Linked DNA regions of Homo sapiens: regions 1, 2, 3, 4, 5 and 6 are each linked to region 7. Evidence: promoter capture Hi-C in 16 types of primary human blood cells and fetal thymus (Javierre and others, 2016). All regions are on one chromosome and are shown on one strand. Each heading gives the region's core, a stretch centred on a gene start or on the middle of the fragment in contact. The rest is flanking DNA. Distances are from core to core; before and after follow the strand shown. Region 1 has its middle 17 kb from the start of TMEM64. Region 2 has its middle 520 kb from the start of PARAIL. Region 3 overlaps NECAB1 (N-terminal EF-hand calcium binding protein 1). Region 4 overlaps NECAB1 (N-terminal EF-hand calcium binding protein 1). Region 5 overlaps C8orf88 (chromosome 8 open reading frame 88). Region 6 overlaps C8orf88 (chromosome 8 open reading frame 88). Region 7 holds the start of DECR1 (2,4-dienoyl-CoA reductase 1).

The links. Contacts are between HindIII fragments. The CHiCAGO score rates a contact against its expected background, and 5 or more counts as called.
Region 1: a fragment that was not itself captured here is called in contact with the fragment with the promoter of DECR1 in region 7 in 9 of 17 cell types (total B cells, M0 macrophages, monocytes and 6 more); the score reaches 7.2 in total B cells.
Region 2: a contact is called between a fragment that was not itself captured here and the fragment with the promoter of DECR1 in region 7, in 1 of 17 cell types (non-activated CD4 T cells). The highest score is 5.8, in non-activated CD4 T cells.
Region 3: a fragment that was not itself captured here is called in contact with the fragment with the promoter of DECR1 in region 7 in 2 of 17 cell types (total B cells and naive B cells); the score reaches 8.1 in total B cells.
Region 4: a contact is called between a fragment that was not itself captured here and the fragment with the promoter of DECR1 in region 7, in 13 of 17 cell types (naive B cells, total B cells, naive CD8 T cells and 10 more). The highest score is 27.2, in naive B cells.
Region 5: a fragment that was not itself captured here is called in contact with the fragment with the promoter of DECR1 in region 7 in 13 of 17 cell types (naive B cells, total B cells, total CD4 T cells and 10 more); the score reaches 13.3 in naive B cells.
Region 6: a fragment that was not itself captured here is called in contact with the fragment with the promoter of DECR1 in region 7 in 15 of 17 cell types (naive B cells, fetal thymus, total CD4 T cells and 12 more); the score reaches 21.3 in naive B cells.

The regions. Positions count from the first base shown.
Region 1 is chr8:90,661,178-90,664,325 of GRCh38, reverse strand. No RefSeq gene overlaps it. Among named protein-coding and RNA genes, the nearest start is that of TMEM64, 17 kb to the right of the region's middle. The HindIII fragment of the contact is 3,250 bases long and covers 1-3,148 here.
Region 2 is chr8:89,238,932-89,242,522 of GRCh38, reverse strand. No RefSeq gene overlaps it. Among named protein-coding and RNA genes, the nearest start is that of PARAIL, 520 kb to the left of the region's middle. The HindIII fragment of the contact is 4,416 bases long and covers 1-3,591 here.
Region 3 is chr8:90,924,071-90,927,161 of GRCh38, reverse strand. It overlaps NECAB1 (N-terminal EF-hand calcium binding protein 1), which reads right to left. Exons shown (of 13, transcript NM_022351.5): 7 at 1,506-1,627. The region is part of intron 1 of LOC105375634 (a long non-coding RNA gene); the gene reads left to right. Among named protein-coding and RNA genes, the nearest start is that of C8orf88, 60 kb to the left of the region's middle. The HindIII fragment of the contact is 6,117 bases long and covers 1-3,091 here.
Region 4 is chr8:90,940,299-90,943,410 of GRCh38, reverse strand. It overlaps NECAB1 (N-terminal EF-hand calcium binding protein 1), which reads right to left. Exons shown (of 13, transcript NM_022351.5): 10 at 2,513-2,625. The region is part of intron 1 of LOC105375634 (a long non-coding RNA gene); the gene reads left to right. Among named protein-coding and RNA genes, the nearest start is that of C8orf88, 43 kb to the left of the region's middle. The HindIII fragment of the contact is 7,402 bases long and covers 1-3,112 here.
Region 5 is chr8:90,958,998-90,962,382 of GRCh38, reverse strand. C8orf88 (chromosome 8 open reading frame 88) reads left to right here. Exons shown (of 6, transcript NM_001190972.2): 5 at 1,535-1,641; 6 at 3,353-3,385. The coding sequence ends at 3,376. It overlaps NECAB1 (N-terminal EF-hand calcium binding protein 1), which reads right to left. Exons shown (of 13, transcript NM_022351.5): 13 at 2,990-3,385. Among named protein-coding and RNA genes, the nearest start is that of C8orf88, 25 kb to the left of the region's middle. The HindIII fragment of the contact is 3,382 bases long and covers 1-3,025 here.
Region 6 is chr8:90,980,367-90,983,787 of GRCh38, reverse strand. C8orf88 (chromosome 8 open reading frame 88) reads left to right here. Exons shown (of 6, transcript NM_001190972.2): 2 at 3,327-3,421. The coding sequence starts at 3,353. Among named protein-coding and RNA genes, the nearest start is that of C8orf88, 3.2 kb to the left of the region's middle. The HindIII fragment of the contact is 5,795 bases long and covers 1-3,421 here.
Region 7 is chr8:90,000,034-90,003,432 of GRCh38, reverse strand. DECR1 (2,4-dienoyl-CoA reductase 1) reads right to left here and starts at 1,956. Exons shown (of 10, transcript NM_001359.2): 1 at 1,872-1,956. The coding sequence starts at 1,940. RefSeq lists enhancers at 1,330-1,469, 2,318-2,612 and a silencer at 1,940-2,039. The HindIII fragment of the contact is 6,361 bases long and covers 1-3,399 here.

The sequences.
Region 1 (3,148 bases), core at 294-2,793, 660 kb before region 7:
GTGCTAAACATGGAAATGAAAGAATAATATCTGCTCCCTCAAAAAGACACTTAAATACATAGCCCACAGACTCTGTAAAGCAACCACACAATAAAAACTACAAAGCAACCAGCTAATAACTTCATGATAGGATCAAAATTTCACATATCAACATTAACATTGAATGTAAATGGTCTTAACACCCCACTTAAAAGCCACAGACTGGCAGGTTGGATTAAAAAAACAAGACCTAGGCCTGGGGTGATGGTTCATGCCTGTAATCCCAGGACTTTTGGAGGCCGAGGTGGGCAGATCATTTGAGATCAGGAGTTTGAGACCAGCCTGGCCAACATGGTGAAACCCTGTCTCTACCAAAAATATAGAAATTAGCTGGGCGTGGTGGCATGTGCCTGTAGTACCAGCTTCTAGGGTGGCTGAAGCATAAAAATTGCTTGAACCCAGGAGGCGGAGGTTGCAGTGATCACACCACTGGGCAACAGAGCAAGACCCTGTCTCAAACAACAACAACAAAAACAAAAACAAACCGTCTATCTGCCGTCTTCAAGAGACCCATCTCATGCGTAAGGACATCCCATGCTCAAAGTAAAGGGTTGGAGAAAGATCTATCATGCAAATGGAATGCATTAAAGACAGAGGTGACTATTCTTATGTTAGGCAAAACAGACTTTAAACCAACATTAAACCAACAACAGTAAAAGAGGACAAAGAAGGACATTACACAATGATAAAAGTTTCAATTCAACATGCAGACTTAACTATCCTAAATATGTATGCACCCAATGTTGGAGCACCCAGATTCATACAACAAGTACTTCTAGACCTATAAGTAGAAATAGCCACACAATAATAGTAGAGAACTTCAACACTCCACTGACAGTGTTAGACAGATCACCAAGACAAAAAACTAACAAATAAATAGCGGACTTAAATTTCACATTTGACCAGTTGGACCCGATAGACATCTACAGAACAGTCCACTCATCATCCTCAGAATATACATTCTTCTTATCTGCACACAGAACATACTCTAAGACTGGCCACATGCTCAGCCATAAAGCAAGTCTCAGCAAATTCAAAAAAATCAAAATCATACCAATTATACTTTCAGACAAGAATGGAAAATAGAAATCAATACCAAGAAGATCTCTCAAAACCTCACAATTACATGAAAATTAAATCACTTGCTTCTGAATGACTATGGACAAACAATACAATTAAGGCAGAAATCAAAAAGTTATTTGAAATAAATAAAAACAGACACAACATACCAAAATCTCTGAAACAAAGCAAAAGCAGTGTTAAGAGGAAAGTTTATAGTGCTAAATGCCTACCTCAAGAAGTTGAAAGCTCTCAAATTAACAATCTAATATCACACACAGAGGAAGTTAAAAAAGAAGAACAAAGTAACCCCAAAGCTAGGAGAAGGAAAGAAGTAACCAAAATCAGAGCAGAACTGAATGAAATTGAGAACCAAAAATCATATAAGGGCTCAATGAAACCAAAAGCTGTTTCTTTAAAAAGATAAAGAAGATCAATAGACTGCTAACTAGATTAACAAAAAAACAAAACAAAACAAAACAAAAACCCAGAAGATCTAACTAAGCACAGTCAGAAATGATCAAGGTGACATTACAACAAACTTCTTGACATAAAACAGTTCCAGTGAAGGCATTTTAACAAGATAACCCATGAGCAAAACAAAACAAAACAAACAAAAACCTAGAGGGATTTTCTGTCCAATTTTGCAGTTGGAACAAAGCAAAATAAAGTGCTATCTGTTTCTCTGTCAAAAAAAGTTAGAAAGGATAAAAAGTACTAAGCCGATTTTTAAAAATTACTTGTAATAACACTCAAAGGGAAACATATTGGTATATTTCCTTCCAGTGTTTTTATGCATATTTTCAATATACATTTCTTATACACTAAGTCCTCATTTTATGTGTCAAAATAATACTGCCTAGCATAAAAGGGAATATCATACAAGTTCAGTATTTAGTAAAAAATTAGAAGGGAGCCAAAATAAAAGATAATATGAAACAGACTAAAATACTAGCGGGGAGGGGAAGGGACTCAGAAAACAGTGGGAGTAATTAAGAAGGATGACCCTCAAAATGAGAGAACCTAGTGAGGATCTTAAGTTCCAAAATAAAATTGAGATAACTTAGACAATAGATCGCATATTGCTTTACAGTTTAACCTGTAATAAAACCAAGAAGGACACTTTTTAGGTCACTCTGTAGCTTGTTGCACCAATATGAAACTAATATAGGGAAGAATCTTGGGCTATTCATACCCAAGTCTAAATGCAACCCAAGGAATAATGCTCAATACATTCTTTCTGTGTCATCACAGAGCCAATTTGTTATTTGGCTTTTTGACTTTTAACCTGAGGAATGGCTCCAGGACAATTGTGTTTTTGAAATAGGTACTGTATTTATGGGCTGTCAGAATATTTTTTAAAAGGCATATTTTATATACTGGGTATATGAAGAGGAATTATGCACAAATGCCCCCCTAGAAAAAGTCCCTTTATTAAATAGATTTTCCAGCTTATTCTCAATTGAAGATTTTCATTAACATTAGAAGGGAATGTTATTTCATCAACTTATAAGGCAATAAAAATATAAAAACAGGAATACAAAGATATTAATCTTAACTTCACGTGCATTAAATCTGAAAAGGAGTTTGGTCAGATTTTTTTGTGCAAATGAAAAATATTTAACTGTTTTTAAATATTAAACTAGTTTTGTTATGCAAAGCAGTATTTTTCCTGTATTTATTAATACTTATTAACAAACTCAAGCCAATTCCTTTTATTTTATGAACTTTTAGAATACCATTTTTCCAAAGGGCATAGAAGAATAACAAATATCACATTTGGCTGGGCGCAGTGGCTCACACTACACGGTGGCTCACAATGCTGTAATGTCAGCACTTTGGGAGGCCAACATAGGAGAAAAACTTGAAGACAGGAGCTCAAGACCCCGTCTTAAAAAAAAAATTACATTAAAAGTGTTTACATGATTTCTTGGTACTTAACTTTTAATATAATGATATCACTAAAATATAAATGAAATGTTTGCCTCTGTAAGTCATTTTATTTTCATATTAAGACATTATTCCATTTTGATTAATCATTAAGTGGTAA
Region 2 (3,591 bases), core at 944-3,443, 760 kb after region 7:
AATCAGTAGTGTGCCTGAGCCATCACATATCATGAGAGCCTATTTTTAGCATCTCTTCCTTATTCCATGGTCAGTGATATCATATTATAGCTTAAAATTAACCAAAACTACATAGAAACCATCAAACACTAAAATTCAGGGCTTCACATCCTCCCTAGGAATGCTGATTGTTAAATGGGTACTTTATCTTGTAATCAGTAGTACCATGCATATCATATCTGTTATTATTTTTCTTATTCACAAGATTTTCAATGATCCATGTGAGTGGTCTCTCATTGCAGCAAATGACTCCCTCAAAAACATAATCATTAATAAAAATTTAAGACACCAAATTAGAGAAAGAGAGTCTATAATCATATTTTTTAGAGACCCTATTCTTAGTTCAGGGCCACACTCATTTTTTTAAAAAAAAAATATGGTATAGGATAATTTTAGTGGTTCCCATGTAAAATATGTAGCTTAGTTCTCAAATGTAGCCTAAATTTAGTTTATTTACCTTACTAGTTAGGAATATGTAGGCAGGGTGATAGAAACAATTATGGGTCTTCATACATAAAGAATTAAACTTTGTTCTGGAGCAAATCATTCTAGAGAAAAAGGGAGTCAATTCACTTTTGTTTTCAAGAACAGTGGCCAAGGATGGAGGGATCAACTGGTTCTTAAGGTGGTATAGCATTCATTGTTTTAGTTTGTATTCCCATACAGCTTTCTTAGAATCAATTTTGAGTACTAGGGTGTACAGTCAAATAGAACTGCTATGCATTAAGAATTAAATGCATTTAAGAGCTTCAAAGAAAAGCATTAGTGATATTGGGACTTACAGCTTTGGCTATAATTGAAGACAAGTCATATGTTGACTCTGTTCAGAGGAGATGGTATACGAAGAGCTTCAGCAGCACCAGGCAAGAGTTCTCTGTGGGTAAACCTCAATATCCTCAGTAACAGATATCAGAAGCCTCAATGCAGACAACAGCAAGCACCAGTATCACTAACATGTTTGTCAGGCAGTGGAACCTTAACCATTGTAGATCCTGGCATCAGTAGTGGGGTATCAGATTCACCACAGAGAGCTGAAATGGGATCATGAGAGAAGGAGATCTGAGGGAACTTGTATGTAAAGTAGATGTGAGACATCTGGAGACTCTCAAAACTATTTGGGAGGAATTTGAGTGAAGCTGAGATTCTTCTAGTTCAGGGAAGCATTCAACTGGAGAAATATTAGTTTCAGTTTTGACCCTATTTTGACTTTCAGGTTACTGTGATCTTAAAAGTGTAAATTACATTTATATAATATAATAAGGCATTGTAGGGCCCTGGAAGTTATTTAATACAGAGGGGAACCTTGTTTGTCTTACTCTTAGGCATGTCCTCATAAGGCTAATTGTCCTCTGTAATCCTAGCTGTTTATATAAGTCCTTAATAAATATATATTACCCTCAATTTTTGATATAGTTGATTCAAATGTCCCATGACAGTTAAGTCTAATGTTCAAGAAGGGCACTATATGCAAAGTGAAATTATAAGGTAGATATAGTGACTGAACTTCATTGGTTTTTGCTCCAAAATAGATCTGTTAGCTGTATTCTATTAATGTATTCCTGTGCAATATCTCGATGCCTTCAAGGGGCACCAGGACCTTATAAGAAGTATATGTATATATTTATAAGTAAAATATGTTGAGTGAGAAGCAACTACATCTGCTTAGGACTGCTGAGTGGGACTAGCCAACAAAGTGAGATAGTGAAAGGTCTACTTGGAATAGCTCGGTGAATTCTACTATCACTTACCAAATTTTCAAACCAAAAACCCAGCAGTTTGTTTTAGCTTTTTTACACTCCCTGGCTCCACACCATCTAATCAGATACAAGCCTTACCAATTCTAAATTCTTAAATTTCCAGTTTCTTTGTTCCTTTCCATCAACACTGCTGCCCCTAGTTCAAGTATCCATAACTCTTTCCCCTGAGCAGGTGCTTCTTTGCTGTTCTTCCTGGCTCCAGGCTTGTCTCTCTAAGCCTGCCCTTCCACATGCTATCAAACTAAGGTGCAAACCTCATTTCCTTGCTCAAATTTCTTTAATGGTTCCTTCTTCATCTGGGTCCTCCTTATCTTCCTTCACTTCCTTCTATAGTCAAATCAAGACCCACACAGTGGGAGGAATAACCCCAGCTCTCAGCAATGCAGAAAAAAATAAAAAATAAAAAAAAAACTGGCCAGCAACCTAGCTTAAAGGATCTTCACATTCTGCGGCAACGACTCTGTGGACCGACCAAGGAAGGAGAAGGGGCAGGAACCAGTAAAGTACTTCCCTGGTGGTCAAATTCTAGAGGGCTAAATGTGTGTGTGCATGAGTGACCACAAACAACCCTGCTTGCGGTGTTGTTCTTGTGGATGGTGACAAGTCCTACTGCTGGACAGAGTGAGTGGGTCCTCTCTGCGGTTCCATAGCTACCTCATATGGCTTAGGGTGGATCCTGCCATGGGATTTATACTGGCACACCAACACTAAGAGGGGCCTAATTCTCCCTTGAGGGAGCAGCCAGAGAGGACGACATGAGTGGGAAGTGTGCAAGGGACCTTCAGAGGGGGAAAAGGAAGAAACAGGTCAGCCTTCCAGGGCAGCAAGGCAAGACACCCCCTGGTGTGAGAGTTTGAGCCTTCTGGGACAGACAAGGCAAGACATCCCTGGTGTGAGGGGTTGAGCCTTCCACTAATTTCAAAGGTCGAACCTCACACAAACCCCCTCTTTCCTTTCTTCTCAGGGGAGGAAAGGATAGCTCCACTCCCACTGGTCCCTCCCCTAGGGGAAGGGGAAGGGGAAGGAGAGGGGAGAACAGCAGCACATGTGGCTGGCAGAGAGAGAGGAAAGAGAGAGAGAGAAAGAGAGAGACAGAAAGAGACAGAGAGACAAAGAGGGAGTCAAAGAGAGAGAGAGGCAGAAAGAGAGAAGAAGAGACAGAGAGACAAAGAGGGAGTCAGAGAGAGAGAAAGAGAGAGACAGAAAGTCAAAGGAGAAAGAAAGAGAGAAAGACAGAGATAGAAGTATTAGGGAAAACAAACAGTGTACTCTATTCCTTTAAAAGCCAGGGTAAATTTAAAACCTATAATTGATAATTGAAGGTCTTCTCCATGACCCTATAACACTCCAATACCACCTTGTTGTCAGTGTGAACAAGGGCATAACCTGAGAGCACTGAGGCCACTGATAACCCATAGCCTTCCTAATCAAAAATCCTTAACCCAGTAACCCGTGGATGGCCCAAGTACATTCAATCTGTAGCGACAACTGCTTTGCTAACAGAAGAAAGTAGAAAAATAACTTTTAGAGGAAACCTCATTGTGAGCACACTGCACCAGTTCAGAACTATCCTAAGTCAAAAAAAAAAAAAGGGAAAAGGTAGCTTACTCACTCAAAAATCTTAAAGTATGGGGCTATTCTGTTAGAAAAAGATGATTTAACATTAACCACTGATAATTCCCTTAACCCAGCGGGCTTCCTAACTGGGAATCTAAATCTTAATTAATTACCATATAAAGGTCCAACCAGACCTAGAAGGATCTCTCAGGACAGAATGATAGATGGTTCCTCCCAA
Region 3 (3,091 bases), core at 493-2,992, 920 kb before region 7:
ATACTAATAAAATTTATGTTTTTTTTAAATTCTAATACAATATTTCTAATCTGGGTTATTCCCAAAATAATTTAAGGTGGCTGTCACATCAGAGACCCAAGAAAAGATATTTTGGACTATTTTCTAAATGGTTAAAATGGAAAGAACAATCTATATGTTGCTTCAGGAGCTTAGCATTGTCATTTTCTAGTTCCATGTGGTAGATCATATTATTTTTCCCAATTCTTCAATTTCTTCCTGCTATAGAAGTATCTGTATATACCCTTGCACCACAACTTTGCAGTATCTCCTATTATAATGAATGAAGCACATTTCCCTCCCCATTGTTACTGTGCTTGACATGTGATTTGTTTGGCCAATGGAGAGGTACCAGACAAGATGCACACAGTACATAAAACAATGGTTTTTAATATGCATGTATAATTTTGGGCTGGCTGCATGTGCTTCTGACACCCACTAGGAGAAGAAAATGATCCAGCTGTTGCTTATTCCAGAAGGAGGCTACATGAGGAGTGGGGCCAAACTCAACCTACATACAGCCTGGAACCACATCCAACTGAAATTGCCCAAATCACCAACCATAGACTCATGAGAGAGAAAAACAAGTATCTACAGGTGTAACCATCAAGATTTTAAGGTCGCTTCACAATAAAAATGGACTAATATTCCATATGACCTTGGACAAATCACTTAACTTCCCAGGCTTGTTTCCTTACCTGTGAAATGGAGAAATAGGGAAATTAACATCTATTTTATCAGGTGTCAAGATAAAATAAGGCTTTATTCATAAAAATACTCTGAAATCTTTCAAGTACAGTTGGTGAAAATATAGAATATAGCTTATACCTTGATTTTCTGAATATTAGATAAAGACTCGTGTTAAAATGACACGTTCAAGTGACATATGTGCATGTATATATGCATGCTTTATAAAAATTACTCCAATATTTAGCAACATGAGTTTGCATATTTCAAATTGATTTTAAAATGGTTATAAGTGACACAGTTAAAATTTAATAACCTAACAATTATGGGTATGGTTTAGCCCAGTAAATCTTATATCACATTACAAACTTCAAAAACACCAGCTATGACTAATCCTATTATGAAAACAAGGATCCTTTCCCCAGATGAACTTAGGATAGGCTTAGGGAGGCTTGGAGATCTAGAGCATATTAGGGTAGAGTCCCTTTATTTCAAGATCATGGGGGGTCCTTATAGACGTCAAGTCTTTTAGATGTTAGCTGATGAAGCTACTGCCTTCCCTATTCACCATCTCTCTGTGTGCTTTCCAGGCACAACTGCTAGGATTCTGACCATGCTGATTTTAGGCTCACCACCCCAGTTCTTCATACTACACTCTTCACTGCTTCTGTCTCAAACTTACTTGGTATAAGGAAAGTGTTCCATTACTATTGTCTTATCTGTTGTTTGTTAAAATAATCAATTGGAAAACGCAAGATAAATAGACTTTGACAAATAAAAACAAATGAAGGGTATGTTACCTGGACCGCTGACATTAAACTGAGGGCTGTTTGGGGAGAAGCTGTTGTGTCTCTGGACTCGGCGGCTTGATCGTTTTCCAGGCCATTGAATCGACAGGACTTCTGGCTTGGCTGGCCCTTGCCTTGATCAACAGAGATAACATTTAACCTTAATGTTAGTGCTTCAGTCTCTTCCTTCAGGGAAGAGATCTTCATGCGTCAGTCATAAAGGTTTTCTAGTGCAGCAAAATGAAAACTTATGAGAATGACTGCTTGTAAATGCTCTAGAAACCCAATGTAATTTGGTACTACAGTATGTGAACCTAAGAAAGAGAATTCTGAGCTTTCTTTATTCTTAAAATTCTGAGTAAAAATTGTAATTTAAGGTAGGCTTTTTTCCTTTGTTGGTCAACTTTCAGTGGAAAAACGTGTATGCAGCTATTGTATTTTGTTTAATTTGAAAACACTTATGGAGTTTTTTCTGTAATTCAGTTTTTAATTTTTTGGATCAAAGCTATACATCCATATATTTTTAGGAGTCAAATGATTCTATAAATCTTATTTCAACAAACAGGAGCTCCCTCGTTTCACCCCCATATCATATTCCCACTCCTCTTTCAAAAAGGCAACACTTTTTAGCAGGTGTTTACTTTCATATGAGTATATGTTATGATATGAAAGTAGCATATGTTAAAATATATATTATATACAGTATATCTTATATACTATATACAGTATATGTTATATACTGATATGAAAGTAAACACCTTCTAAATTATCAGTATATAACATGCTTAAATTGCTATGTCTTTAATTTTTAGTTTTAGGCTTTATCTATTAACTTCACAATATGAAAAGCTCAGGCCAATGATATACAAATGGAAATGTTGTAAGGAATTTCCAGGAAGGCTGCTTAAAAGTACAGATTCAGCTAGAAGGGATCCCTTTTGTCTTTCCTTAATCTTCTTTCCTGGTTGGAATGTGAACATGGTAGCTGGATCGCCAACAAACATCTTGGTCTATGAGGCAAACTTGGCAATAGTTTATTATATTAATATGCACTTAATATGTGAAAAAGAAAGAGTGTCTATGATAAATCTGTAAGGACATAATACTTAAGCTGCCTCCAACAAGATTTCTTTATAGGAGATATAATCCCTTGTGTGTAAGATATAATCCTTCTGTGTTTAAGACAAATCTAAGATTAATGTACTCATCCAAAAATTTTCATTATCTATCAGCTAGGGAAGATTCCTTTAGCCTTTCTCCTGTGTTGGATGACCTCTGATCCCCCTTTTACTAGATTTCATTTTTTTTCTTACCTGACTCCTTTGTTTTGGTGGAAAATATCCCCTAATTGCTTCATAAGAAAAGGTGCATAATGAAAGGTAAAATTCTTGAAACATTGCATGAATAAACATCTTCCTTACTTTATTGATGGTTTTATGGCATACAGATTTCTAGATTGCCAATTGTTTTGAAAAATTTGCTCCATTGTGTTCTATATCCCAGAGTCACTAGTGAAAAATCTAGTGTTTTCTTGATTATTTGCATATGGCCTGGTTTTTCTCTCTGGGAGTTTTTAGACACTTGTCTTTGTTTCCAGT
Region 4 (3,112 bases), core at 53-2,552, 940 kb before region 7:
CTGATATAGTCTACATTTTGATAATTCCAGTAAAAGAAATTACCTGAAAAATCAGCAATAAGAAGTGAACGAAGAATTGTATGAAACAAACCAATCTTGCAAAGTAAACAGAGAGGCTGAAAATCTATCTTACAGGAAAAAGATGCTCTCCTTTCCTCTACTTCACAGCAGGAGCTGATGGAGCAATTTATTGTGGTTATTGAGAGAATGGAATTTGCAGCAGGCGGCACAAATCTATCCACTCTCTCACTCCCCCACAGCCTGTTTCCCTTTCCCTGGGGCTGTTCTAGTAGCTCGAGGTCATTTTCCCAACACCCATTAAAGTAGTGTTTCTGAACCTAAAAAATAAACTTGTGCGCCTTTTTTATAAATATAAAACATGCACTCAATCCCTGGAGATTGTAATACACTGAAATAGACTTTATCTTCTCTGTATCCTCATTAAAAAGAGTTTACTGAGCTCTATTTTGGGAAGTTTACACTGTGAACGGTGTATATATAGGTACTGTTTGCATTTTTCTTTTTTTTTGAAACAGAGTCTCGTTCTGTCATCCAGGCTGGGGTGCAGTAGCGCGATCTCGGCTCACTGCAACCTCCGCCTCCGGGGTTCAAGCGATTCTCCTGCCTCAGCCTCCTGAGTAGCTGGGATTACAGGCACATGCTACCATGCCCAGCTAATTTTTGTATTTTTAGTAGAGACGGGGTCTCATCACGTTGGTCAGTCTGGTCTCGAACTCCTGACTTCGTGATCTGCCTGCCTCGGCCTCCCAAAGTGCTGGGATTATAGGCGTGAGCCACTGCACCCTGAATTTTTAAATATTCAATTTTATTTTCAAATGAGTGGGCTCTTAAAAACTACACATATTCCCACCTTTGCAAGTCTTGAGTCACTGAAGTAAAAAGGACTAAAATGGGGTTTTGATTTGTGCCCTCTGAGTCTGGCGTGAAATAGAATAATAAAAATAATCATGGAAACACAGCATTTCCTGTGTTCTTGTTTCAAAGGCACTACTGGAAGATGATGAGCTGTTAGTGGCACTGAGGAAGTACTGTACTCATACTCTAGAGAGGAGGTCAGCCACCCAGACAACCAGGAAACAGTAGTAAACGCAATAGTGACTTCAGCTCACGTCTTCAGTGGATGGGAAGCATTGTGCTGAGCACTGCATATGGACTGTCTCACTGAATCCTCCCAACCATCTCATGAGCCTCTTGAGGAGGAAACTAAGGCTTAGAGCCAGTGAGGGTCTTTCTCAAAACCACAAAGCTAGTAAAATTCCATGTTTATTTCCAGAGCCAGACTTCTTAGCTAGAGAAATATTCTGCTGGGGTATGAATAAAATATAATTAATTGAACACTGAGAGGAAAAGCAAAACACCCAGAGACATGAAGTATCTGTTTATGCACACATGTACACACACATACACAAACACACACACATTTTCTAAAAACCTTCCCAAAGCAACATTTGAAGAGCATTATGAAATATAGTTTAAGCAAGCTCATAAGGTAGGGTTAGACTTGGTTGTGGAAGTTTTCTAAAAGCAGATGAATTTGGACCTGGGCTCTGAACTTGAGGCAGTGCATGGGCTGGCAGAGACTTGCAGCTGGGTGCACATTTCTGAGAGGAAGAATAGCCAGGTCTGAGGCACAGTGGGGAACAAACAGATTATATCAGAAATTCTATCTGTGCATCACCGAGGCAGAGTGTTTAGATGAGGGAGAACAAATAATAGTAGTGATATGGATTCCTGGGTCTGTCAGTAGGATTAAATATAGAGTCAGGACAAATGTCTAGCCTTTGATAAGATACTCATTAGAGAGTTACTTTAGGTTCCCAGTTAAGGGAATTCTATGATAACTGTTTCCAGAAAATTATTATAGTAACTATTTATTGAACCAGTTGGAGTGAAAAAATTGAAGATGAGGAATAGTATATTTTAGTAGCTTGAGATATCCGAAGCCTGAGCTGGGTGGTACCCATGGAAAGAGGAAAGAAAAGATCTGCTGCTGCTTCATTTTCTTTTAATGACCAAGGCCTGAAATCATGACTTCAGGGATGCCTGCAATTTCCTAATGGCTGAAATGGTCATTAGGCCACAGGGCGTACTGCCAAGGGAGCAATCACAGCTAGATGTCCTAGAGTTGGCGCCTCATCTACCAGAGATGATTTTAAATCAGAGTGTGGGCTGCCTGGATGCAAAAGGGAATTTCAACTTATTTGAAATTCAGTCTCTTCATTCAAGTTGTTCTATTTCATTTTACTTGGTGCCCCAATGATCAGACGACACGGGGTTTAAAGATTAGACGACACGGGGTTTAAAGATTAAAGAGAAAACATTCAGTTAAAGGCAGCAAATGACATCACCCAGGTGGAATGCTCTGTATAATTTAATGTGAGGATTCTCAAATATCTGTCTTCTAGACCCCCAGCCTTGTCTAAAGTAAGAAATGCCTTCACTGTATTCCCAGGCTGCCAAAGGCCTAAGGTGCAGGAGTCGGAGCACTTACCGCAAGCATCCACTTTGGGAGGAAGCACTCTCCACGTAGTGTTTCAGAGCGAGCTGGAATTCTTCCAGGTCCTCTTCTATCACAGACATCTGCCGCTGCACAAGCATGATGTGCTGCCAAGGAAGGGGCGAGGGTCACTGCGTTGGCTGTCACGGAGCCCGATTTAAGCTGACTCCTACTGCCCATCCCATTCCTCCTCACAAAAACAGATGATTGTCATCCAAAAATATGACCAAGGAAGGCCATGACTATTCCAAGTATAAAACTGTATAAAGGCTGTAATCTAGGCAAGATATTTTCCTTGCCTCTAGTCCCAGAAGCTAAACAACGTGTTCTTTACAATGACGTGTTTCCCTTTAAAAGCAGTGATTCTCAATGACTCGAGAAGTTTTAAAATTATCTTTATATCAAAATCTCTGGGAGTGGGGCCCAGGCACTGCTATTTTTAAAACCTCCCTAAGTGTCTGTATTGTGCAGGCAGAGCTGGGATCACTTCCCTATAACAACTTACCAATTTTTAAAGAGAAGTCCTATTGTTCATTGCACAGCTCCAATTTCTTGAATATTTTGTGATATTAGACATAAGTGACAATCATTACA
Region 5 (3,385 bases), core at 85-2,584, 960 kb before region 7:
TTCACTTACCTCCATTTCTTGAATTTTATGTTTTCTTCTTTATTGATTTATGTCCTCATTTTGCTCAAGTACATTCTCCAGGAGTTTCGTGAAAAAAGGGTATTGGGTTGGTGAATTCTTTGAGTTTGCATATTTGAAAATATCTTTATTCTGTTCTCACACTTGATTGATGGTTTGGCTACGTAGAATGTTCCAGATTAAGGATGAACCTCAAAAATGTTAAATGAAAGAAGCCAGACCCAAAATTTTTGGTAAGTTAATTTTTCCTCGATGTATTTCAGAACTGTGTATTAGGAACAACACATTAATAATTGTTACCTGTTAGTTGATAGGATGTAAGGATAGTAATTCAACCCTTCTTATTCCTAGTCTTTTCATGTGTATCTTTTTATATCCATTTACTTTCAACTTATATGCCTTTATATTTAATATGTGTCTCTTGCAGACAGCATATAATAGGGTCTTCTTATTTTTTAAATCCACTCTGTCAATTTGTAGTCTTTAATGTAATGTTTAGGGGGTCAGTAAATTATGGTTTACAGACCAATTCCTGTTTTTATAAATAAAAATGTATTGAAACATAGCCACACCCTTCATCTATATATTATCTGTGGTGGCTTTTGCTTTTAACAGTAATACATATTTCTTAAAATAAAACTTAGAGAAAAAAAGGAATCTGTTATACTTACCCACCTATTTACCATCTCTTTTGCTCTTCATTTCTGAACAGTAAAGTTTCCATCTAGTATAATTCCCTTCAGCCTGTAGAAATTCCTTTAGCATTTCTTGAAGGTCACATCTGCTAGTGATGGATTCTTTCAGTTTTACTTTATCTGAAAATGTCTTTCCTTCACATGTATTTCTGAGGGTTTTTTCCCCCCCACTGGACATGAAATTCTGGGTTACCGTTCTTTTCTTTTAGCACATTAAAAATATTATTCCATTGTCTTCTGGGACAGCATATAATCTGTCTTGGTGATTGTTTCTGGTAATCATTTCTGATTTGAAATCTGCAGATATTTGAAACATTGTTCTCCTTGAAGATAGGGGCCCTATCTTGGGTCCTATTCATTATTACCTAGCACAGTTCCTGATACATAGTAAGATGTACAATAAATGTTTCTTGAATTTATTTTTATTGTGTTAAGTTTTTAGTATTGATTGAGACTTGATAGACTCATTAAAGTAACATTTTGGCAGATCTGAATTGCCCAATAGTTATTACTGTGGTTATATTTTACACAAGATCATTTTACTAGACCTGAATAACCAGATGAAAAAAGCCATGCATTTCCCATTTTCTTAATTATATTTCTTTCATTGTTTCCTTGGTTACTTGGTTTTCTTTCTATGTAAAAGGAGAATTGGAGGCAGTAGATGCTTGTCAAAGCCTTTTTTCTCCTTCTCTTTTGCATAGACACACGACTCATCATTTTATATAATGAATAGAGGACATCCAGAAAGAAATGAACCAAAAAGTGATCTAGACAGCCCTACATTTCCTAACATTATATTTGATGTTTAATATCTACAGAGAGAATTAAATACAGCAGAGATTTCCTGTTGAAGCTCTCAAGTGTTTCCATCTGCAGAAAAAAACCAGACTTTCTGCCTGATCATCCCATTGTACTGCAAAAACCAGTAAGTAGTTTTCTAAGTTTGTATTGTAATATTATATTACAAAATATTTTTCTTTAACATTTTCATCAGACTCTACCTCTAGATTTTTAACCTTCCTTATTATAAGATATAAGTAATTCAGAAAACTACAAAAATCTAAAGATATAACCAATTATTATAAAGTAACTCTGTTCAAAAAATAGAATGGAATAGCTGTATTTTGTTTAAGAAATATTTTTAATGGAAAGGTCATGAAAATATTATCCCATACTCTAAAAGTTTTATTTTTTCAATTAAATTATATTGTCCACCTGGAATTAATTTTACTCTATGATGTGAGGTGGGCATCAAGTTTTACCTTTTTCTACATAGATATCCAGTCATTTTAAAAATATTTATTGAAAGGGTACTTCTCTGACATCTTTGTGGCAATGTATGCATGGTCTGTTAATGGGCTATCCATTCTGTTCAATTAGTCTTTTTATACATTATAACAAATCATCTCATGTATTTTTCTTTAACATGTCTTTGCTATTCTTAGCCCTTTATATTTCTGTGTTACCTTATCAAATTCCATCTAAATAAATACACATAATAAATACATACATGCATCTCTTAGGATATTCATTGGAAAGGACATGGATTTTGTCATCAGACATGGCTTCAAATTGTAGCTCCATTCTGTGTACCGGTAGTTCGAACTTGGACAAGTCACTTAACCTCATTGAATTGCTGATAAGGATGATAAGTTTTGCAATTGCTGATAAGGATGATAATCTCTGGCTGTTAGGATTAATAAAATAATGCATGAGATTACTGAGTATGATACCTTTCTCTCATTATGCTTTTAGTAAATGATTCCCATTCTTTGTGGTCTCTACTTACATTTGACTGGAATTTAACTTCCTATTAGAGTTTTCGTAAATACCTTTATATAGGTAAAGGCAGCTAGGACTCTTCTGAAATGAGATTCAGAATATAGGTATACTGAGAACAGTTCGAATGGGAGATAAACACTACTACCTTCTATCTCCATTTTTGGTATTCTAATTCTTTGGAATTCATAGTATTTTTTTCCTCAAATTATAATTTTTAAAAAACATTATGTTGTTCATAGTTTATATTAATATTTCTTAAACTCCCTAACTTTAGATCTCTAGCCAATTCTTTTTAAAGTTAATTAAAGCAGGAATTAAAATTTTTTATAATACTTCTCATGCATAAATATTAAATAAGAAAAAATGTACTTGATGTTTCAACTTTCCCACCGGTTCAAAGATCTTTGGGATATGTAATCCATGGTCTGTAAGAATAAATGTAAACTTCAGTGCTATATAAACTATAGTCACTTTTTCATTTGTAGACTTTCCATCTTTAATAACATTTTATTGTGTAAATAAAAGCTTGACATACACTTTTTAAAACAAACTTGTACATTAGAATTCATTTTACTTGTGATTTACACATTAATACATATTTTAAACCTAGGTGCCACAGAAACAGAAGAACAGGTTTGGAATACAATTTAATATATTTTAAAATGAGTTACATATATTTTAAAAACATGAGCCGTTTTGTTATTTGACAGTTCTAGTTACTTTAATAGTTTCTATGGTAACATGCATTTAAATCTGTAAACACCTGGTACGTTCACAGTATTTGGTTTGATAAACTAATTAGTAAAAACTGTATTCAATCAATTGATAAATTAACTTTTTCTTTTATATTACAGGAAAACAACCAAAGTTTTAAGTAGCATTTTAAG
Region 6 (3,421 bases), core at 922-3,421, 980 kb before region 7:
TATCTAGCACTTAGTAGCTATGTGGACTTGGGCATGTCTCTTATTTTTCTGAGCCTCAGGTTTCTTATCTGTGAAGTGGGACTAATAATAATTTTCTTCCACCGTTCATATATGGCTCAAAATTAAATGAAATTATATTTAGTATGTAGTAGGACCTTAAAAAGGCATCTTAATTAAAAAATAAGATTAATAAGATTTTGGCCAAAGTGGTCAATGTATCTGCTTATTATCCCATTGTATTTTAGACAATTCTAGGTTTACTGGTAATATCAGGACTGATAAGGCCTGAAGATTCATACTTAGGTAAATTTTTTAAAAAGAAAAGGAACCTAAGATATAGTTAGTATTGCCAGGTGTAGAATAGCAACTGTAAATAACTAACTGATTTACCAATATTCTATTCATACAACTTGGTCTTTAAAGATGATTTGTTAAGTGTGTGTGATCTTGAAAAAAACTATTCAGCAACCATTTCTCAGTATGTATTAATAGAAAGTTTTTTTGGAGACATTGGATCAAAATATCCTTTAAAAAACATTTATACCACAAAACTATACATTTACATTTTTAAATTTACATTTTACAACCTTATGATAGGCCCACTACTTGCTACCCAATGTTGTAGGCAGAATTCTGTTTATTTTGTAACTGTGCTTTGAATCGTTGATATGATACATGGCTACTCTAGGTAGCACCAGTAGCTTCAAGGGAAACTTTTTGATCTCTACATTCCATGGATGAAGCAGGCATTAGAGTTTAAGACTGAATTTGTTTTGTATAATGACTTTGTAGTGCAGTTAAGTCTTTATTATTTTTAACTAAACTGAGAATTAGGTTTTGGTTTATGGAGTTCTGCCTTAATTATAATCTCGTGACTCAGTTTTACAATAATAATTACTTTTTATAAATACTTAACCTTTTTCATTAATAACATGATGGTGGAATGTACTATGCATTGTAATCCCAAACTTGTCCCCTATAATGTCAGTGTTTCCCTGCAGGCATCGTTTACTTTAAAAAAAAATATTAAACAGAGTACTGAATGACACCATCTTTTCTAATTTCCTTAACTGATGTGGATTTATATACAGGGAGCCATTGCTGTATCTTTCCTACTGTAAATTGAAGGGTAGGTGGCACCAAAAGAGCTTTGATTTTTTGTTTATTTACTTGTGTTGCAAAGTCATATAATGGAGTTCTGTAATCCCCAACTCTTGAAAATCCCTAGTTTGAATACTGTGGATTTGCCTTGCTCAGCGATTGGAAAAGACTTAACAACCTACAACTAAATTTCAGCTGAGCAATGAAAAACAACGAAGTGTGTGCCAAAGTACTCTATCCTATTGTATTCTGATTCACTAGTTTCATATGGGGAACAGGATGGAAAGTTACTACATACTAGTATTAGGGTCTTAACTAAAATAGCTAGGATAAACATCAAATAAAGCAATGTATATTAGGTTGCTTTTTGGTCCTTATTTTAAATATACTCTTCTACATAGAAAATATTAATAACTTTATTTGAAGTATTTTTTCTATTTGTGCTTATAACTTTTTTTTCATCTTGTTATATCCAATTGTATTGCACAAAAAGTACAGAGAGCATTAGTTTTGCCACGTTGAAATACTAGCTAACAGACACATTACAAAGCTGGGTTGGTATTAACTTGAAGTACTTGCTGGGTTATCTCCAAATAGTAACTTTTGGGTGCTTACTTATCATTCCTAATTTTGAGAGGTTGTTTATAAGTTTATAATTTTAACATTTGAATTATACATGTCCAAAGATATTTAAAAAATAGGATAAAGCATTTCTGGGAACTTAAAGGGTTACTAACTCTATCTTATACTTGGTGAAATAGGCACTTAGACTTATGATTTGCTTAATATCATATGGTTACAATTATTTCTGGATAAGCAGGTGCAAAATCAAGTGGAGTTTTATTTTTGACTTTGTCTTGATGGGCATCAAAATTTGGAAATCTTGTGTCCCATACAGGTGTCAGATTTTAGTTGCAATGACGAGGTACTTAGCGTTTATAGAGTTTATTTAATAAATCTATGTTGCAGATACTAGAATACAAAAATAAATAAGGTCTGGTTTTTGTGGCCTCAACTAACTGATAGTCCAATAAGTAGACATGTAATATATTTACTGTGATATATTTTAGAAAAAGTGATAAAATACAGTAGGGACCAGTGAAGGAGGAATGTAAGGAAGGAGGAATTATTATTATTGTTATTATTATTTTATTATTAGAGAACTTCATGTAGACTATTTTATTTAACCTTACCTGTTGAGACAGGGGGATATTTTCCAAGGAAGTGGCAAGAGCTTGATCTTGGTCTTGACAGATAAATAGCTGTTTGGAAGAAGAGCAGCAGAGATAGTAAGGGAACTATAGACAAAACACTTGAATGTCCAAATATATGGTGAAACAAAATAACATTAATATTTTGGAAGTAGCGTGAACAGAAATTAAAGACTGATTTTGGAATCAGAGGCTCTAATTTAGCCCATCAAATTGAAGGCAGTTTTACCAAGTGTGGTCCAAGGGAGTTGGTGATGACTTTAAAGGAATACAGGAGTTAAAGTTATTAATTAGATTTTAGATATGTTGAATTTGAGGTACCTGTGATAATATATAAATTGAAATATTATTAGACAATTAGAAAAATAGAACTGGAGTTTAAAAGAGAAGTAGATTCTGGAAGTATAAATTAGGGCATATTTATCATGTAGATAGGAGGTTGCAGCCGTGAGCATAGATGAGTTTTAGCTAAGAAGACCAAAGCCAAATTCGGAAGAAAGACAGAAGAAGAGGAATCAGCTAAGGAAGTTAGAAGAGACAATCGAAGAAATAGGAAACAAACCAAAAGAACATAGCTGGGGCAACATAGTGAGACCCCATCTTTAAAAAAAATATATTAGCTGGGCATGGTGGTTCATGCCTGTAATCCCAGCTATTTGGAAGGCTAAGGCAGGAGGATCTCTTGAGCCCAGGAGCTTTAAGTTGAAGTGAGCTATGATTGTGCCACTGCAGTCCAGCCTGGGTGACAGAGTGAGACTCTGCCTCAAAAGAAAAGAAAAACAGAAATATAGAGTCAGTAAAGTTAAAGAAAATGTTTCAAAGAGGGAATGTTTAACTGTGACAAATGCTATAAAAGGAGTCTGAGTATTGCATATTAAATGCTTTTTTGTGTTTGTGTTTTCCACTTTAACTTGTAAAATAGGCATCTTAAAAAAAGATGTAGTTATTTGTATACATGTAAAGCATCTTGATTATTTTGTCCAAAAGATAAAAATGTATTTTTTTGTCTTCTAGTATGGAACCTCAAAGTCTTTGTGACAATGGAAACCAAAAAATTAATTGGTAAACCGCTTCAACCAGCAAGACCTGTTCGTCATCTGACTTCTCCC
Region 7 (3,399 bases), core at 707-3,206:
TCCCAGGGCATAGCACAGGGCCAGACATAAAGCCAGTCCTCAATAAATATTTATTAAATTGAAATGAGGCCTATTAGCCAGCAGCACAATTTAACACAGCACTTCACAAACAGGTTTTATAACAAATTAAACATTTGCCTTGGTTCTTGGTAACAAAAATATTCAAATTAGGGGTTTTAATTATAACAACTTGTATTTGCCCACAAAAACATGATGTTCCCTGGAACAACCTCCCACATCACAGATGTAAAGACTTTTCTTCTCCCAGGAATTCAAACTTGAGGCTACATGTGCTAGGAAGGGGACAAACCACACTAACAGGTACCTCTCTTGCCTCCCAACCCTGAACCTCAAAACTTCCATATTTTTCTTCAGCAAAGGAATTTCAAAATTGTCAGATTACAATTAATTTTTAAATGAGTTCATTTTCTCCTTCTCAAACTGTATTGTCTAATGGTGTCAGAAGAGCTTGGATAAGGTCTGTATGACCTTATTGCTACAATCCTAATGATGTGTGTTAAAAAATGAAATCTCTGAAGACATCACAGAGCTGTTGTAGATTTCAAATGAGAAATGTCTCTGAAAAGTATCAGAAAATATGGGCTTCCTTTATAATGATCTATAACCCAGTTTTCACAGGGAGAGAAAAAAAATCAGCAAAACCCTAACCCTGAACAAATCTCACTTTTTAAAAGAAAGATACCTTACTTGAGGGAACCACCATACTAATTCTTTGTATTCCTATTTGGAACTACTGCTGCCCATATTTTTTGAAAAACAACACCATGGCTGTCTATTCTATCAAATCAAAAGAAGTTTTTTCACAGTTGACATATTAATTTTTCTACCTGGCTAAAGAAAATGTGCTTTTTAGTTTACTTATAACAATTTTGTAATTTAGATGTGGGGAGGGCTTGTCTTGGATATTATTGCTTCTTTTTGTTTTTGTTTCTCTTTCTTCTTCCTAGCTGTTTTCACTTCCTAGCTATTTCCACTATGGGTGCAATGGAGATGGTGACAGGAGTGTGGGCCAGAGAGAGGGGGAAGCCAGTGTGAGACGGACCTCTCCCAGCTATACATCTGGGAAGGGGAGTCTATAAACAGCTGGGGTTTTGTTTTTGTTTCATTTTTATGATAATTTGTTTGTATTAGTGTTTAATTCCATAACTAACACATAGATGGACTTTCCTCACAACAAAGGACGTCAAAGGTCAGTGCTCGCTCGGCCTGATCCCCTCTCACTCCTTAAGGGGTGGACGGGCGCCGTATCCTTCCCTACCTCTTTCTACCTATTTACACACAAGTTGGAAACTTGCAGAACTGTGAAAACTTCGAAAATCACGTCTCTTCCCTATTCCCCTACACACATCAGGGCTTCATCTGACAGTGGAATACGACCCGGGCCCCGGTGCTCACTCCCGGCGTTGCCCTTCGCTCCGGGACCTGGTGGTCCTCTCTCTCTGCGCCCCAAAACGCCCTGTCCTAGCTCCCTGAGCCCCAGGGACGCCGGGTCCTCTCTTTGTGCCCCAAGACTTCCTGCCCTTTCTCTTGCGCCCCGAGACGTCCTGTCCTCTCTCTCGCTCCCCGGGTTGCTCTGTGCTCTCTTAGCGCTCCAGAACGCCCTGTCCTCTCTCTTTGAGCCCCGGGACACCCTGTCCTCGCTCCCCGAGGCCCCGGGACGCCCTGTCCTCTCTCTCTCTGCGCCTCGGGATGCCCTGTCCTCGCTCCCCGAACCCCCGGGACGCCCTGTCCTCTCTCTTTGCGCCCCAGGATGCCTTGTCCTCGCTCCCCGAGCCCCCGTGACGCCCTGTCCTCTCTCTTTGCGCGTCGAGACGCCCTGTCCTCGCTCCCCGCGCCCCCGGCCGCCTTACCCTCCGAGGAGCGAGGCCACAGGGCAGCCGGGACCCCAGAGTAAAGAAAACCCTGGCCGGTAGCTTCATGTTGAGTCTCCAGAACTCGGGCCGGAAGGCGGCGCAGGCGGTTGGGCGCAGGGGGCGGGACAAAAAGAACAAAGTTCTCGGGGCTGGAAACGCTGCCTAGGCCGCCGGGGGATGGGACGGGGACTGGGACCCAGGCGGCGTGGACGCCCAGCGGCCCTGACCTTCAGAGTCCGGCCGAGGGCGCCGCCTAGCTGGGCCTAGCTGATGCTCTTTCCTGCTCTCTGGGCCAGGAGTGCTTTGTATGGCAGAGAATGGAGGTTCTTTGCGTCCTTGAGCGGGTGTACGAAACCCCGCGCCCTGCAAGGGTTTGCAGATTGCAGCTGCGCACCCCATACACTGCCTATCAAGGGCGAAACTCTTTTTCAGTCGTATGTGTTTATCCCTTAAGTGCGTGTTTAAGTGCAGAGTGCGCGTGGCGCCAAGTCACATATTATCAGAATAATAATATGTTGGATGTAAAACACGGCCTCACTTTCCCTAAGACCAAGAGGCTGAAAAACACTAAGGGCAGCTTCCGGCGTTTTGACTTTTCGCAGGACACACCGCCCCCTGTCGCCGGATGCAGCGTGACTGCGACCGCCCAGCCTTGGCTTTTTTCTCGAAGTTAAACACACGTTAAAGGCAAACACAGATTCAGTATATCATTCTCCATCTTAGTGTAATATACCTGTTGACACAAGGCATTAGCTCAGATCACATTTCTTTCCTCATTCGTAAAATGAGAATATTCATAGCTAATTCAGAATTTTAGATAAAAGAAGATGGGTGTGAGGCCCCAGGCTGAGGCTGATGGTAGATGATATTGAGTGTTTACTATTTGCCTGGCATGTTCCAAATGCTGATAAAGAAACATTTATATCTTCAGAGGAATGTACACTTACATGTAGACATATAGCTTATAAGGTATATAAACTCTGAAAAACTTTGTAATTTTGAGTTGGTCTGGTGATAATTTCCAGGCCTTCTGCCTGTAACTGGTTACAGAAATAAAAACTTTCTTCATCCCCAGTTCATCGACATCTCATTATTGGCAGCAAGAAATAGCAGCCTGACCCTCAGTTTGGTCCAGGAACAAAACTACCACAGATTGGGTGGCTTAAATGGAAATTTGTTTTCTCACAATTCTGGAGGCCACAAGTCAGCAGAGTTGGTTTCTTGTGGAGCCACTGTGGGACCATCTTCTCCCTGTGTCTTTACATGATCCTCCTGTGTACCTTTCCATATCTAAATTGCCTCTTCTTATGAGGACACCAGTCGTGTTGGATTAAGGCCCACCCTCAATGACCTAATTTAACTGGAATTACCTCCCTAAAGACTCTATCTCCAAATATAGCCACATTCTGACATACTGGGGGTTAAGAGTTCAATGTATATATTTGGCTGGGAGAAGAGGGAAGTACACAATTCAGCCCAGAACACTTGCCCTCTTAAATAACTTTTAGACCAGCTTAGGAGGCAT